Regions from separate parts of the Homo sapiens genome. Here all the other regions are linked to region 5. Evidence: promoter capture Hi-C in 16 types of primary human blood cells and fetal thymus (Javierre and others, 2016). All regions are on one chromosome and are shown on one strand. The core of a region is centred on a gene start or on the middle of the fragment in contact, and the rest is flanking DNA. Distances in the headings are between cores, read along the strand shown.

Region 1 (2,870 bases), core at 144-2,643, 460 kb after region 5:
TTTTAGTAGAGATGGGGTTTCTCCATGTTGGTCAGGCTGGTCTCGAACTCCTGACCTCAGGTGATCTGCCTGCCTCGGCCTCCCAAAGTGCTGGGATTACAGGCGTGAGCCACCGTGCCCGGCCTTTTTAATGTATATTTTTAGACAGGGTCTTGCTCTGTCACCCAGGATGGAGTACAGTGGCACGATCGATCATAGCTCACTGCAGCCTCAGCCTCCCCTGCTCAAGTGATCCTCCCAACTCAGCCTCCTGAGTAGCTGGAACTACAGGCACATACCACCATGCCTGGCTAATTTTTGTATTTTTTGTAGAGGCAGGGTTTCACCAACCGGCAGGGTTGCCCGGGCTGGTCTTGAACTCTTGAGTTCAAGTGATCCTCCTAGCTCGGCCTCCCAAAGTGCTGGGATTACAAGTGTGAGCCACTGCACCAGGCCTCCATTCATTTTAGAGAGATAATACATGTGAAGGTTAAAAAAAAAAATCTATGAGACAGGAAAATCTAACATAAGACTCACTGTCAAGCATATCCTGGTTCATTCCAGGATTCTTGCTCCAGCCACCCCGCCCTTCGTAAAAACTTTTGGTAATTCCTTGTGCATCCTATTAGTGTTTCTTTATTAAAACAAGCAATTGCAGGCCAGGCGCGGTGGCTCACACCTGTATTCCCAGCACTTTGGGAGGCCGAGGCAGGCGGATTACCTGAGGTCTGGAGTTCGAGACCAGCCTGACCAACATGGAGAACCCTTGTCTCTACTAAAAATACAAAATTAGCTGAGCGTGGTGGCGGGTGCCTGTAGTCCCAGCTACTCAGGAGGCGGGCGCCTGTAGTCCCAGCTACTCGGGAGGCTGAGGCAGGAGAATCACTAGAACCCAGGAGACTGAGGTTGTGGTAAGCTGAGATTACGCTATTGCACTCCAGCCTGGGCAACAAGAGTGAAACTCCGTCTCACACAACAACAACAACAAAAACAAGCAATTGCAAATGCATGTTTTTCTTATCCATGTTTGCTCTTGTAATGAGTAGTTGGACTCCACCCTTTCTGGTATTTGACTGTTGGCAGATTCAGTGTCAACCCCCCTCTTCTTTCTAACAGCTGCCCACTGTCAATGGAATCACCAAACTCTCAAATATTTTAAGGCTTTATTCTGAGTCAGTATGAGTGACCACGGCCCAGAAAACGCAGTCTCAAGAAGTCCTGAGAAAGTGCACCAGTGGCAGCCAGGTTACAGTTATTTGGTATTTTTGAGACAGGGTCTCACTCTGTCGCCCAGGCTGGAGTGCAGTGGCACAATCTCAGCTCACTGCAACCTCAGCCTCCCAGGTTCAAGCAATTGTTGTGCCTCAGCCTCCTAAGTAGCTGGGATTACAGGCCTGCGTCACCATGCCTGGCTAAATTTTTTGTATTTTTAGTAGAGATGGGGTTTTGCCCTGTTGGCCAGGCTGGTCTTGAACTCCTGGCCTCAAGTGATCTGCTGGCCTCAGCCTTCCAAAGTGCTGGGATTACAGGCACGAGCCACAGCACCCAGCTACAGTTTGGTTTTATGCATTTTAGAAAGACAGGAGTTGCAGGCAGACATAAATCAGTACATGGAAGGTAGGCATTGATTTGGCCTGAAAAGGTAGAATATCTTGAAGCGGGGGCTTACAGGTTATAGGTAGACTCAGAGGTTCTTTGATTTACAGTTGGCTAAAGGAGTAAACATTTGGAGTCATTAGATAAGAATGAATGTTTGGGCCGGGCGCGGTGGCTTATGCCTGTAATCGCAGCACTATGGGAGGCCGAGGCGGGTGGATCACCTGAGGTCAGGAGTTCGAGACCAGCCTGGCCAACATGGAGAAACCCTGTCTCTACTAAAAATATAAAATTAGCCAAGCGTGGTGGTGGCGCCTGTAATCCCAGCTACTCGGGAAGCTGAGGCAGGAGAATCACTTGAACCTGGGAGGCGGAGGTTGTGGTGAGATCATGCCATCGCACTCCAGCCTGGGCAATAAGAGCGAAACTTTGTCTCAAAAAAAAAAAAGGAATGTTTAAGGAAGACAGCTGGGCTCAGGAGCCTATAATCCCAGCACTTTGGGAGGCTGTGGCACACAGATTGCATTAGGCTGGGGACAGTGGCTTATGCCTGTAATCCCAACACTCTGGGAGCCCAAGGCAGGTGGATTACTTGAGGCCAGGAGTTCAAGACCATCCTGGCCAACATGGTGAAACCCTGTCTCTACTAAAAATACAAAAATTAGCTAGGTGTGGTGTGTGTGCCTGTGGTCCCAACTATTTGGGAGGCTGAGGCAGAAGAATCCCTTGAGCCCGGGAGGTGGAGGTTGCAGTAAGCTGAGATTGCGCCACTGCACTCCAGCCTGGGTGACAGAACGAGACTCCATCTAAAAAAAAAAGTAAAAATGAGGTCGGGCGCAGCAGCTCACGCCTGTAATCCCAGCACGTTGGGAGGCCGAGGAGGGCGGATCATGAGGTCAGGAGATCGAGACCATCCTGGCTAACACGGTGAAACCCCGTCTCTACTAAAAATACAAAAAATTAGCTGGACGTGGTGGCGGGCGCCTGTAGTCCCAGCTACGCAGGAGGCTGAGGCAGGAGAATGGCGTAAACCTGGGAGGTGGAGCTTGCAGTGAGCCAAGACTGCACCACTGCACTCTAGCCTGGGCGACAGAGTGAGACTCCATCTCAAAAAAAAAAAAAAAAAAAAAAAGTAAAAACGATTAGCTGGGTGTGGCAGCATATGCCTATATTCCCCACTACATGGATCACTTGAGCCTGGGAGGTCCAAGCTGTGGTGAGCAGTGATTATGTCACTGTACTCCAGCCTGGGTGACAAAGCAAGAGACCCTGTCTCAAAAAAAAAAAAAAAAAGA
Region 2 (2,839 bases), core at 261-2,760, 350 kb before region 5:
CCTGCCAGGGTCACGCATTACAGACTCTGTGCCCAGAGTATTTTTTCATGGCTCTTGTTTTCTGTTAGTTGTAATAGAATACCTGAAATTTGGCTGGGCGCGGTGGCTCGTGCCTGTAATCCCAACACTTTGGGAGGCTGAGGCAGGTGGATCATTTGAGACCAGGAGTTTGTGACCAGCTCAGCCAACATGGTGAAACCCCATCTCTACTGAAATATAAAAACAAAGCCGGGCATGGTCATGCATGCCTGTAATCCCAGCTACTTGGGAGGCTGAAGCATGGGAATTACTTGAACTGGGAGGTCGAGGCTGCAGTGAGCCAAGATTGCCCCCCCTGCATTCCAGCCTGTGCAACAGAGCAAGACTGTTTCCAAAAACAAAAAAAAACAAAAAACCCTGAATTTGGGTTAATATATAAAAAATACTTATTTTGTACAATTCTCAAAGTTTGGAAATCCAAGGGCAAATGGGGTACATCTGGTGAAAGCTTCTTGCTCTTTACTGTCTGAGGCAGTGGAGATCACTAGGCACGGGGGCTGATTGTGCTAACTCTGGTCTCTTTCTCTTCTTACAAGGCCACAAGTCTTATTTGTAGGATAACCCATTCATTCATTACCTCTTCAATTCGTCAGTGGATTAATCCATTCATGAGGCAGAGCCCTCATGCCTCTTAAAGGGCCCTGCTTTCAGTACTGACACATTGGGGATCAAATTTCGTTATGAGTTTTGGAAGGGGAAATTATTCACACTTAGCAAGGGCTGATTAGGTACACTGCTTCTGCTGAAAATACCACACTCTCAGAGGGAAAATGGGAATTAGGCAAATACCATATTGTTTGCATAAGTAGTTAAGGCACACACAACCCCATTTATTAGTTATGTTGGTGCAGATCTTCCCAAATCTAGCCCCTAGATACCATCAAAGTTCAACTTTCTAAATAAACGTGTAAGAATATGCAGTCTCAGAACTGCTAATTTGTCTCTTATAGACAGTATGTTTGGGACTTTCTCATGAGAGGTAATACTGACCCACTATACAGAGAGACACTAGAGGTGATCCAGGCAGCATATCTCAGTCTCTGAAATCACCAATGAGAGGCATGTCCTTGTTGGCTGTCACTTTACTGAATATATTCAATTCTAGCATCAGAATTGCTGTGATGGAGAAAGTGAGTGTAGACAGAAGACAAGAGGCTGACCAAGTCATTGAATAAATTTTTGGAGTCCACAGCATCGTGTGAACTTCTGAAGTGAGTATAGATTCCTAATGCTGTTGGTCTGAACCTTCCTCCTCTGCCATGTGGGATGTTTCAGGACTCAGTGACCTTTGAGGATGTGGCTGTGAACTTCACCCAGGAGGAGTGGGCTTTGCTGGGTCCTTCCCAGAAGAATCTCTACAGAGATGTGATGTGGGAAACCTTCAGGAACCTGATGTCTGTAGGTAAGGGTGACATCATTTCTTCACTTAGTCAATTATAGAACAAGTGTTTCTTGGTCTTCTGCATTGCTCAATGATTTGGAACATGGTAGGGAATACAGCAGACCCTTGAACAAGGTGGGGGTTAGAGACTCTGATCGTCCACACAGTCTGTTAGGTGCCTGTGAATTTAGAGTCCCTAAAGAGTTAACTACTAATAGACTGCTGTTGACCAAAGCTGTATTGATAACAGAAAGTCAATTAATACATTTTGTATGTTTGGTATATATCTATATACATATATATGGCCAGGTGTGGGGGCTCACACCTGTAATTCCAGTACTTTGGGAGGCTGAAGTGGGAGGATTGCTTGAGCTCAGGATTTTGAGACTGGCTGTAGCAATGAAGTGATACCCTGTCTGTATAAAAAATAAAAAAAGTAGCCATGGATGGTGGCACACCTGTGTTCCTAGCTATTCAGAAGGTTGAGGCAGTAGGTTCGCTTGAACTGGGGAGGTTGAGCTTGCAGTGAACCATGATTGCACCACTACAGTTTAGCCTGGGCAACAGAGTGAGTCCTTGTCTCACTCTGTGTGTGGCTGGGCATGGTGACTTGCGCCTGTAATCCCATCACTTTAGAAGGCTGAGGCAGGTGCATCACTTGATGTCAGGAGTTTGAGACCAGCCTGGCCAACGTGGTGAAACCCCATCTCTACTAAAAATACAAAAATTAGCTTGGTGTGGTGGCATGCACCTGTAATCCCAGCTACCTGGGAGGGTAAGGGAGGAGAATCACTTGAACCTGGGAGGCAGAGGTTGCAGTGAGCCAAGACCACGCCACTGCACTCTAGCCTGGGCAAGAGAGAGAGACTCCGTCTCAAAAAAAAAAAAAGTGCGTATGTGTATATATGTTTAAGACAGGGTCCCTTGCTAGGTCTAGAGGCGAGTGCCACCATCCCCAGCTAATTTTTGTATAATTTTTTTGTAAGGTGGAGGGTCGTGAACTCCTGGCCTCAAGCATTCCTCCTCCCTAGCATCCCAAAGTGCAGGGATTACAGGCATGAGCCACCATGCCAAGCCTGTTTGGTATGTTATGTACTGTATTCTTATAATACAGTAAGCTTTTCTTTTGAAAAGGTTATCAAAAAAATTAGAAGAGAAGATATGTTGACTTTAGTAAGTGCAAGTAGATTATCAAGGTGTTCTTCCTTGGTTGTCTTCATATTGAGTAACCTGAGCAAAAAAGGAGGGTTTGGTCTTGCTCTCTTAGAGATGGCAAGAGCTGATGAAAATGTGCATGAGTGAACTGTGCAGTTCAAAACCATGTTGGTCAAGGTTCAACTGAACTTTGGTGAATAAATCAGCCATGGCCACAGTGTCCCATGAACATAGAATCTAATAATTTTTCTATAATTTTGTAAT
Region 3 (3,232 bases), core at 416-2,915, 310 kb after region 5:
TGAAATAAGCCAGACATGGAAGGACACATGCATACTTCCACATATCTCTCTCTCTATGAATAGTCAAATTCACAGACAGAGAAAGTAGAATGGAGATTTTCAGTACTTTGGGATAGGATGGAATAGGTAATTACATGTATGGAACACTAAGTAGATAGAGCAAGTAGCACAGTAACACGTATAAAATGATCCCTTCCTTTGTGTATTCTAGTTTGTACCAGCACTGTAAGAGGCTTCCAGATGAGCAGTTCCAGTGGTTAATGTTGGTAGTTCAAAGGGTAACACTGCCCTCTAGGCAACATCGTGGAGGTCTATTTGAGATATATTTCACTACAAGTTATTCTCATGAATACTTCAATGAAACAGCTCTTATCAAGGCCCCCAGTGACCAAATACTTGCCAAAATCTACAGTCAACCCTTTTTCCTTGTCTTATTCAAATTCTCAGTGACCTGTGACACAGCTGACCACTCTCCCCATATTGAAATACCTTCTTCTGGAGGCTTCCAGGAGAAGAAACCCATGTTTTCCTCCTACTACTTCATTGGGTGTTGGAAACCATTATGGAGTGAGGAAGTCAATGATTTCAGGAGCTTCTCCACTATTGATGAAGTATCAGGAATATCTCAAATGCTGCAAGGGAGGTTGGTGGGGAAAACAATCTATGACATGCTTGAAGACTTTATTGAGGAACACATTGACAGGACAAGAGCACCGCCATCTTTATAACACTCCACCATCCTAAGCTTTAAGTTTCTATTTGGCCACCTGGCCAAAACTGAAAATGTCAGCCCCGCCCATAACTTCAACAGAGAATAACGGCCCTAACTGTAACAGAACAGCCAGGACTTCCCCAACCCCTCCCTAACAGAATTTTGTTTCAAAGCACACTTCTCCACTGGGCCCTTTAAAAAAGCCTCAGGCTGTAAGAGAAGTTTGCACCTGACCCTGCCGCTGGAAGCCCTTCTCAGGTTTACTCCCAATAAAACTGTCTCAACTGTTGAGCCACCTTCTCATCTCTCCTTTCCTTAATCTTTCTATCCCAACACAAATAAGAGAGCATAAATACTAACAAGGAACTCGAAGATATACTGAAATTCTCTGCAGATAATGATGATAATGATGATGCAGAAGACTTAGAAGAGGTAATATCAAAGATGTGACACTTGAAACATGTGCAGCAGTTTTTGGGGCATCTACAGCCTCTGCAAGGTGAAAAGTATTAAAGATTACAATCCTCGCAGGGCACGGTGGCTCATGCCTGTAATCTCAGCACTTTGGGAGGCCGAGGCAGGTGGATCACCTGAGGTCAGGAGTTCGAGACCAGCCTGACCAACATGGTGAAACCCCATCTCTACTAAAAATAAAAATTAGCCAGGCATGGTGGCGAGTGCCTGTAATCCCAGCTACTCTGGAGGCTGAGGCAGGAGAATCGCTTGAATCTGGGAGGTGGAGGTTGCAGTGAGTCGAGATCGCGCCACTGCACTCCAGACTGGGCAATAAGAACGAAACTCAGTCTCAAATGATAAATAAATAAATAAAAATAAAAATAAAATAAAGATTGCCATCCTCAAGTAAGATCCTTCAATGGAACAAAACCTCTGTGTCACCCAAGGGATAACATGCCAACAAACACTGCAAGGATATTTAAAGAAAAAGAACCAGCTTCCTACAACAATGTTTCTAACTAAATATCTGCAAATATGAAGACAGATCCTTCAGTGTGTACACATCTTCAGCCCTCATGCTGAACAGATTCTGACATTAGTATTATTTAGTCTCTTCCAAACTCAGCATCTGCAATCAGAACCTGGTTCATCCAACACAGATGATCATCCTGACATCCTGTCAAGATTCAAGTGAGCCTGATGTCTCACTGTTTATCTACAGTGCCACCCATCTAGTCACCTCAGTGAATCATATTAGGCACCATACTGTAATCAGCATCATCATGATCATGATCATCATCATCATCCTTGGGTTATCAAGCAAGAAGGATCAGGATTTTCATAAGTGTTAACACACGATTCCAGGTCATTAAATAAAAGCAATCTATGATTGTTGAAAAAAAAGAAACTGTAGATTACAGGCTCATGCCTGTAATCCCAGCACTTTGGGAGACCAAGGCAGGCAGATCATCTGAGGTCAGGAGTTCGAGACCAGCCTGACCAATATGATGAAACCCCGTCTCTACTAAAAATACAAAAAAAAAAAAAAAAAAAAAAAAATTAGCTGGGTGTGGTGGCATGCATCTGTAATCCCAGCTACTCAGGAGGCTAAGACAGGAGAATTGCTTGAACCCGGGAGGCAGAGGATGCAGTGAGCTGAGATTGTGCCATTGCCCTCCAGCCTGGGCAATAAGAGTGAAACTCTGTCTTAAAAAAAAAAAAAAGAAAAAAAGAAACTGTAACATTCTAGGTGACATGTACTATGTAGGCAGGCCTGTGATGGTTGGGTCTGTTCTCAACAGCACAGGATTATTTTCATATCACGATTCTCTAAAAAAAATACAATAAAATGACTGTTTACATAGCTTTTACAACACATGAGGTATTTTAGTAACCTACTTTTTATTTTTACTTTTACAAAAGCTTTGGGTTGGTGAAAAATTAAGTAATCTAGGCATGATTTATGGGATGCAGGAGGATGTGGATAGGTTACATGCAAATGTCCTTTTATAAAAGGAACACAGCATCTGTGGATTTAGGTATGCTTAGGGGGTCTGGAACCAATCCCCTGCATATGGTTAGGGGATAACCATATTCAAAAGAAACATCTTAAGGCTTTACCATGTGTTTGCATTCATGAGGCTTATCTCCTATGTGATTTCTTTCACGTTTCTGAAATGAAATAAAATTAATGAATGCTTTTCCACATTTATAGAGTATCTCTCCAGTGAGTCCTTTTATGTCTATGCAAGGAACTGAGAGAACTCAGTGCCTTCCCACATTCCTTACATTCATGCATCTTCTCTCCAGTGTGAGTTTTTTCATGTCCTCGAAGGAAACGAGAACGAGTGAAGGCTTTACCACATTGTTGACATTCATAAGATTTCTTTCCAGTGTGAATTCTTTCATGTCGCAGAAGGCAAGTGAGCCAAGAGAATGCTTTCCTGCATTCCTTACATTCATATGGCTTCTCTCCAGTGTGAATCCTTTCATGGACTTTTAAGTTACCAAAATGACTGAAGGCTTTCTTACATGTTTTACATTCATAAGGTTTTTCAGCCATGT
Region 4 (3,118 bases), core at 239-2,738, 340 kb after region 5:
TAATCCCAGCTACTTGGGAGGCTGAGGCAAGAGAATCGCTTGAACCCAGGAGGCAGGGGTTGCAGTGAGCACTCCAGCCTGGGCAACAAGAGCGAAACTCCATCTCAAAACAAAACAATGGGCCGGGCGCAGTGGCTTACACCTGTAATCCTAGCACTTTGGGAGGCTGAGGCAGGCGGATCACGAGGTCAGGAGATCGAGACCATCCTGGGTAACATAGTGAAACCCCGTCTCTACTAAAACAATAAAATAAAATAAAAATTAGCTGGGCGTGGTGGTGCATGCCTGTAATCCCAGCTACTCAGGAGGCTGAGGCAGGAGAATCACTTGAACCCAGGAGGCAGAAGTTGCAGTGAGCTGAGATCGTGTCACTGCACTCCAGCCTGGCGACAAAGCTAGACTCCATCTAAAAAAAAAAAAACACGACGAGAAAGCTGCCGTGACTTTCTTCTGTGGGTGGGGATTTTCATCTTACAATAAGGTATCAGTGATCTAAACCAGCAGTTCCTAACCTTTTTGGCACAGGGACTAGTTTCTTAGAAGATAATTTTTCCATGTACTGGAGTGGGGATGGTTTTGGGGTGATTCAAGTACATTACATTGATTGTGCACTTAAATATTATTACATTGTAATATATAATGATGTAATTGTACAGCTCGCCATACTATAGAATCAGTGGGAGCCCTGAGCTTGTTTTCCTGCAACTAGATGGTCCCTTCTGGGGGTGGTGGGAGACAGTGACAGATCTTCCAGAATCTCATAAGGTGCATGCAACCTGGATCCCTTGTGTGCGCAGCTCACAATAGGGTTCGTGCTCCTATGAGAATCTAATGCTGCCTCTGATATGACAGAAGGCAGAGCTCAGGTAGTAATGTGAGTGATGGGAAGTGGCTGTAAATACAGGTAAAGCTTTGCTTACTCGCCCGCTGCTCACCTTCTGCTGTGTGGCCTAGCTCCTAACAGGCCACAGTCTGGTACCGATCCATGGCCCAGGGATTGGGGATCCCTGATCTAAAGGCAACAAGGGGTCACTGGTTCTGGTTTACTCTGGTTTTGAGCAGGCCTTATCTTATTCTGATAATTGGCAAAGGGTCCTGAAGCTCCCAGGCCATCTGGAGTCCTAGTAAGCTAGCATACCTAAAGATAAACAGACTAGGAAAAAAAAATGTTATCCACTTTTTCAGAAAATAATTAGCGGCTGGGCATGGTGGCTCACGCCTGTAATCCCAGCACCTTGGCAGGCCGAGGCAGGTGAATCACGAGGTCAGGAGTTCAAGATCAGCCTGGCCAACACGGTGAGACCCCGTCTCTACTAAAAATACAAAAATTATCTGGGTGTGGTGGTGGGCGCCTGTAATCCCAGCTACTCGGGAGGCTGAGGCAGGAGAGTCGCTTCAACCCGGAAGGCGGAGGTTGCAGTGAGCCAAGACCGCACCATTGCACTCCAGCCTGGGCAACAGAGTGAGACCCCATCTCAAAAAAAAAAAAAAAGAAAGAAAAGAAAGAAAAGAAAAAGAAAATAATTAGCCATTTCAGCTGTTTTGCTTTCTCAGCTATTTTTCCAGGACTGGCCCAGTAACAAAAGTACCAGATATAAAAGCATCATGAATTGGAAGCTGGAACCCATGGCTAAAAAGAAAGAAGCCAAACATCAAGTGTAATTCAATGAAACAAAATCCTGAATCAACTTGTGATAATTGTAGTGTTTCCTGACAAGACAAATTGGCAAGTTTGAAAAACAAGAAAAAAAAGATGTCTGATTATAACTAATGAATGATATTCATGCCTTTAAAAATTACACACACATGCACACACACACTCACAATCTATTATCACAAGACTGTTCTCTCTCTGAAGAATCAACCATCTTTCTGTAAGATGCTTCATCAACCTTTCACATTAACTGCCTTTGGAGTAATATTATATACTTACTTTTTCCTAGACAGTTGTGAAAACAGGGTGCAGTGGGTCAAAGGTGGTGTCAGGGGTTTATGTTCAGATTTTGCATATTTTTACAAATTGCAGCAATTAACTAGTTCATTACTGTGTTGATTTAAATTCTTACAAAAGCTTCCAGACAAAAATAAACACTCATATAACCATGAGGAAAAAATTCAGAATAGAATGGAGTCCAGAAATAAGGCCACACACCTATGACCACCTGATCTTGGACAAAGCTGACAAAATCAAGCAATGGGGAAAAGACTTCCTATTCAATAAATGGTTATGGTTTAACTGGCTAGCCATAGGCAGAAGACTGAAGCTGGACCCCTTCCTTACACCATATACAAAAATCAACTCAGGATGGATAAAGACTTAAATGTAAAACCTCAAACTATAAACACCCTGGAAGAAAACCTAGGCAATACCATCCTGTACACAGGAACAGGCAAACATTTCATGGCAAAGACAACAAAAGCAATTGCAACAAAAGAAAACATTGACAAGTGGGATCTAATTAAATTTAAGAGCTTCTGTACAGCAAAAGGAACTATCAACAGAGTAAACAGACAACCTACAAAATAGGAAAAACATCTTCAAACTATACATCTGACAAAGGTCTAATATCTACCACCTATAAGAAACAAAGAAATTTACAAGAGAAAAACAAACACCACCATTAAAAAATAGTCAAAGGACATGAATAGACATTTTTCCAAAGAAGACATACATGCAGAGGCCGGGGGTGGAGGCTCACACCTGTAATCCCAGCACTTTGGGAGGCCAAGGTGGGCGGATTACCTGAGGTCAGGAGTTTGAGACCAGCCTGGCCAACATGGTGAAACCCCATCTCTACTAAAAATACAAAAAAATTATCCAGACATGGTGGCGGGCGCCTGTAATCCCAGCTACTTGGGAGGCTGAGGCAGGAGAATCGCTTGAACCTAGGAGGTGGAGGTTGCAGTGAGCCCAGATAGCACCACTGCACTCCAGCCTAGGTGACAAGAGCAAGACTCCATCTCCAAAAAAAAAAAGAGAAAAAAGAAATACACTTCAATCAATGCAATCATCTAGAGGAATATAAAAGACAAATTTTTATTAACTGATTTCATCAAAAAACACTACCTATTCAACTCATGAATTTATGTGTCAAGAGAACTTATTTACAGAATTCTC
Region 5 (3,130 bases), core at 247-2,746:
TTATTGGGAAATGAAATATGGGCTTAACCAGGTACAATTGGTCGAGTAACCTCTGATTATACAACCAAAAATTTTCCACTGTATGGTCTGTGAAAATAAGTAATTCAAAAATTGAAGCTGTTGGAACTCTAAATTATCTTGAAGTTTAAAGTAATGTGACTCTGGAATTGAGTCACCTGACACTGGAAAGAGCCAGCTGGAACCCTCCCACACTTGACTACAGATTAACCATCAGACAGGCTTCACTATACCTGGACAGGCCTCATTATACCCGCTTCCTTTAGGAGTTTCCACATAGCCACTGACCCACCTTCATGTTAAAACAGACATCAGCCAACTGGAAACACAGACTCTCTGTGACAATAAGAAACCAAATTACAAACAAGACCTAAGGCCATGCAAGGCAAGAGGTAAGTCAAATCTTAGAATTCACAAAATCTAAAGAAACAGGTCTTTTGTTTTGGGTGGGATGAAATCATATGACAGATACCAGACCCTCTTCACTTAAGCAATCCTTCCTACCGCCTCGAAGTTTTAGACAAAGCTTCACACTCTCCACCAACGGCCACCTTCAGAATCCCTCAACCACCTGCACCTTCTAACCCCCCTTCCACAGGTCCCGCCCTTTCTGCCAAAGGAACTTACACCTTTCCAGGCATTGATGCATGATTCTCCCTGCAATTCCTGTCTCCCTGAAATGAATAAAAACAGTCTTGAGCCGCCTCGGGACCACTTACTTCAGGCCTCCTGGGGTTGTGTTTTCCTCAGCTGAGGCCTCTCCTATTCGGCTCTGAATAAACTTCTTTAAGTTATTTTACACAGCTTGGCATTTTCCGTTAACAAATTACAAGCCAGGACTGGGTGTTTATCATTCAGGAATCTCAAAGGAACTCTAATTATTAATATATTTTTTAAAACCTATTCTGAGAAGCAAAACTATAATTGTTAACGTGTCTCAGTTTAATTTTTAAGAGGAGAAAGGCGCTACTGGGGACCCCACAGCCCACCCTCCTCCTACACAAACCCCCACACCCGAGGCGGGATCCCCCCATGACCCTCGCGTAGTCCCCGCACAATGTGGGGAGACGCGGGGCAGCGGGCGCGGAGCTGCCCAGAGAGGGCTCTGGGAACTGGGTGACAGTCACCGCGCAGGGACAGGACGAGACGCCCGGGTCCCGGCGGCCGGCCCAGCCCCACTGTGGGGCCAAGGGGACCAAGGGCCGAGCTGTCCCACGGGAAATCGGGTCCCAGACCCCGGAGTCGCCGCGGGGAGGCCCGGGTCCCACCACAGCCGGTTCCGGCCGGTTCCAACCAGCTCCTCCCCCGCCTCGGGACCCCTGGCCCGCACGCTCACCATTTCTTGCCTTTCAGGTGACTCCCACGACCAGTGCGGGTCACAGCACAGGCGACAGAAGCTATGGCAGAGGCACCTGAACCCTCTCGGAGGGGAAAGCCAGGCTCCCAACCTCAGCTCGCCGCCTGGAGCCGGGAACCGAGGAGAGCAGGGCCTTCGCCCTCCCCGATGGACACTCGGCAGGCCCCGCCCAGCGCCCCTGATTGGACGAAGCGCCGGGCCCCGCCCCCTCAGCCGTGAGTGACAATAGAAGCCCTTGGTAACGGGGCTCTGAAAACGGGTTTGACCGGATCCAGCGATAGATTCTTTAAGCCAGAGGTCTGTAACCTTTTTAGCACCAGAACCGGTTTCGTGGAAGACAGTTCTCCTACGGGGGCAGATAGTTTCGGAATGAAACTTCCACCTCAGATCAGGCATTTTATCCTCATAAGGCGAACCCAACCTAGATCCCTCGCATGTGCAGCTCACAATAGGGTTCGGGCTCCTATGACAGACTAATGCCTCTGCTGATCTGACAGGAAGCATATCTCTGGCGATAATGCCCGCTGGCTCGCCCGCCAGCCGCTCACCTCCTGCTGTGCGGACTGGTTCCTTACAGGCCATGGACCGGGGGTTGGGGACCCCTGCCATAGAGTACTGTTGAATAGAAACTTTAGCTCGTCCGGCGGTGGGCTGGGGGGGTGGGGGTAGCTCATGCCTGTAACCCCACCACTTTGGGAAGCCAAGGCAGGCAGATTGCTTGAGCCTAGGAACTTAAGCCCAGCCTGGGTAACATAGCAAAACCCCGCCTCTACAAAAAATACAAAAATTAGTCGGGCGTGGTGGTACATGTTTGCAGTCCCAGCTACTCGGAAGGCTGAAATGAGAGGATCGCCTGAGCCCAGAGAGGTCGAGGCCACAGTGAGCTGTGATTTTACCAGCCTGGATGTCAGAGTGAGACCCTGTCTCCGAAAAAAAAAAAAAAAAAAAAGACAGGGAATTGCAGTGGAGTTTAATATACATAGAGCCGGCTAAATGAAAGAGAAGAGTTTTATTTTTATTCAATTCTGTCTCCCTAAAAAATGGGAGGCTAGGTTTTGTTTTTTTGGTTTTTTTTTGAGACGGAATCTCTCTGTCGCCCATGCTGGAGTGCAGTGGCGCAATCTCGGCTCAGTGCAACCTCCGCCTCCCGGGTTCAAGCGATTCTCCTGCCTCAACCTCCTGAGTAGCTGGGATTACAGGCATGCGCCACCATGCCCGGCTAATTTTTGTATTTTTAGTAGAGACGGGGTTTACCATGTTGGTCAGGCTGGTCTCAAACTCCTGACCTCATGATCCACCCGCCTCGGCCTCCCAAAGTGCTGGGATTACAGGCCTGAGCCCCCGCACCCGGCCGAGGCTAGGGTTTTAAAGATAATTTGGTGAGCAGAAGGCTGGAAAATGGGGAATGCTGATTGGTCGCGAAAAGGATATCACAGGAAGTCTCAGCTGTCTTCTTGCACTGAGTCAGTTCTTGGCTAGGGGCCACTGGAGCAGGTGAGCCAGTTTATTGGTCTGTGTGATGCCAGCAAATTTATCAGAATGAAGGGTCTCAAAAATACCTCAAACACCAATCTTAGGTCTTACAACAATAATATTATCCACAGGAGCAAGTGAGAAGGTTGGGAATCTTGTGTACTCTGGCCGCATATTTCCTGAACCATAATTTCTAATCTTGTGGCTAATTTCTTAGTTTTACAAAGGCAATCTGGTTCCCAAGCAAGGAGACAATTTCTTTACGGAAGCGGCAGTTATGAC

What was found. Contacts are between HindIII fragments. The CHiCAGO score rates a contact against its expected background, and 5 or more counts as called.
Region 1: a contact is called between a fragment that was not itself captured here and the fragment with the promoter of ZNF433 in region 5, in 7 of 17 cell types (M1 macrophages, non-activated CD4 T cells, endothelial precursors and 4 more). The highest score is 7.0, in M1 macrophages.
Region 2: a contact is called between a fragment that was not itself captured here and the fragment with the promoter of ZNF433 in region 5, in 1 of 17 cell types (naive CD8 T cells). The highest score is 5.5, in naive CD8 T cells.
Region 3: a contact is called between a fragment that was not itself captured here and the fragment with the promoter of ZNF433 in region 5, in 2 of 17 cell types (erythroblasts and endothelial precursors). The highest score is 9.0, in erythroblasts.
Region 4: a contact is called between a fragment that was not itself captured here and the fragment with the promoter of ZNF433 in region 5, in 9 of 17 cell types (total CD4 T cells, M0 macrophages, megakaryocytes and 6 more). The highest score is 8.3, in total CD4 T cells.

What each region holds. Positions count from the first base shown.
Region 1 is chr19:12,498,532-12,501,401 of GRCh38, forward strand. No RefSeq gene overlaps it. Among named protein-coding and RNA genes, the nearest start is that of ZNF709, 15 kb to the left of the region's middle. The HindIII fragment of the contact is 4,354 bases long and covers 1-2,870 here.
Region 2 is chr19:11,681,232-11,684,070 of GRCh38, forward strand. It overlaps the pseudogene ZNF833P. Among named protein-coding and RNA genes, the nearest start is that of ZNF823, 56 kb to the right of the region's middle. The HindIII fragment of the contact is 2,051 bases long and covers 486-2,536 here.
Region 3 is chr19:12,346,825-12,350,056 of GRCh38, forward strand. It overlaps ZNF442 (zinc finger protein 442), which reads right to left. Exons shown (of 6, transcript NM_030824.3): 6 at 1-3,232. The coding sequence ends at 2,877. It also overlaps a transcript of ZNF563 not described here. Among named protein-coding and RNA genes, the nearest start is that of ZNF563, 15 kb to the left of the region's middle. The HindIII fragment of the contact is 1,845 bases long and covers 744-2,588 here.
Region 4 is chr19:12,369,496-12,372,613 of GRCh38, forward strand. It overlaps a transcript of ZNF442 not described here. Among named protein-coding and RNA genes, the nearest start is that of ZNF442, 5.4 kb to the left of the region's middle. The HindIII fragment of the contact is 1,161 bases long and covers 909-2,069 here.
Region 5 is chr19:12,034,183-12,037,312 of GRCh38, forward strand. ZNF433 (zinc finger protein 433) reads right to left here and starts at 1,497. Exons shown (of 4, transcript NM_001308348.2): 1 at 1,355-1,497. The coding sequence starts at 1,357. ZNF433-AS1 (ZNF433 and ZNF878 antisense RNA 1) reads left to right here. Exons shown (of 3, transcript NR_134929.1): 2 at 1,372-1,590. RefSeq lists silencers at 1,032-1,151, 1,162-1,211, 1,452-1,611. The HindIII fragment of the contact is 7,472 bases long and covers 543-3,130 here.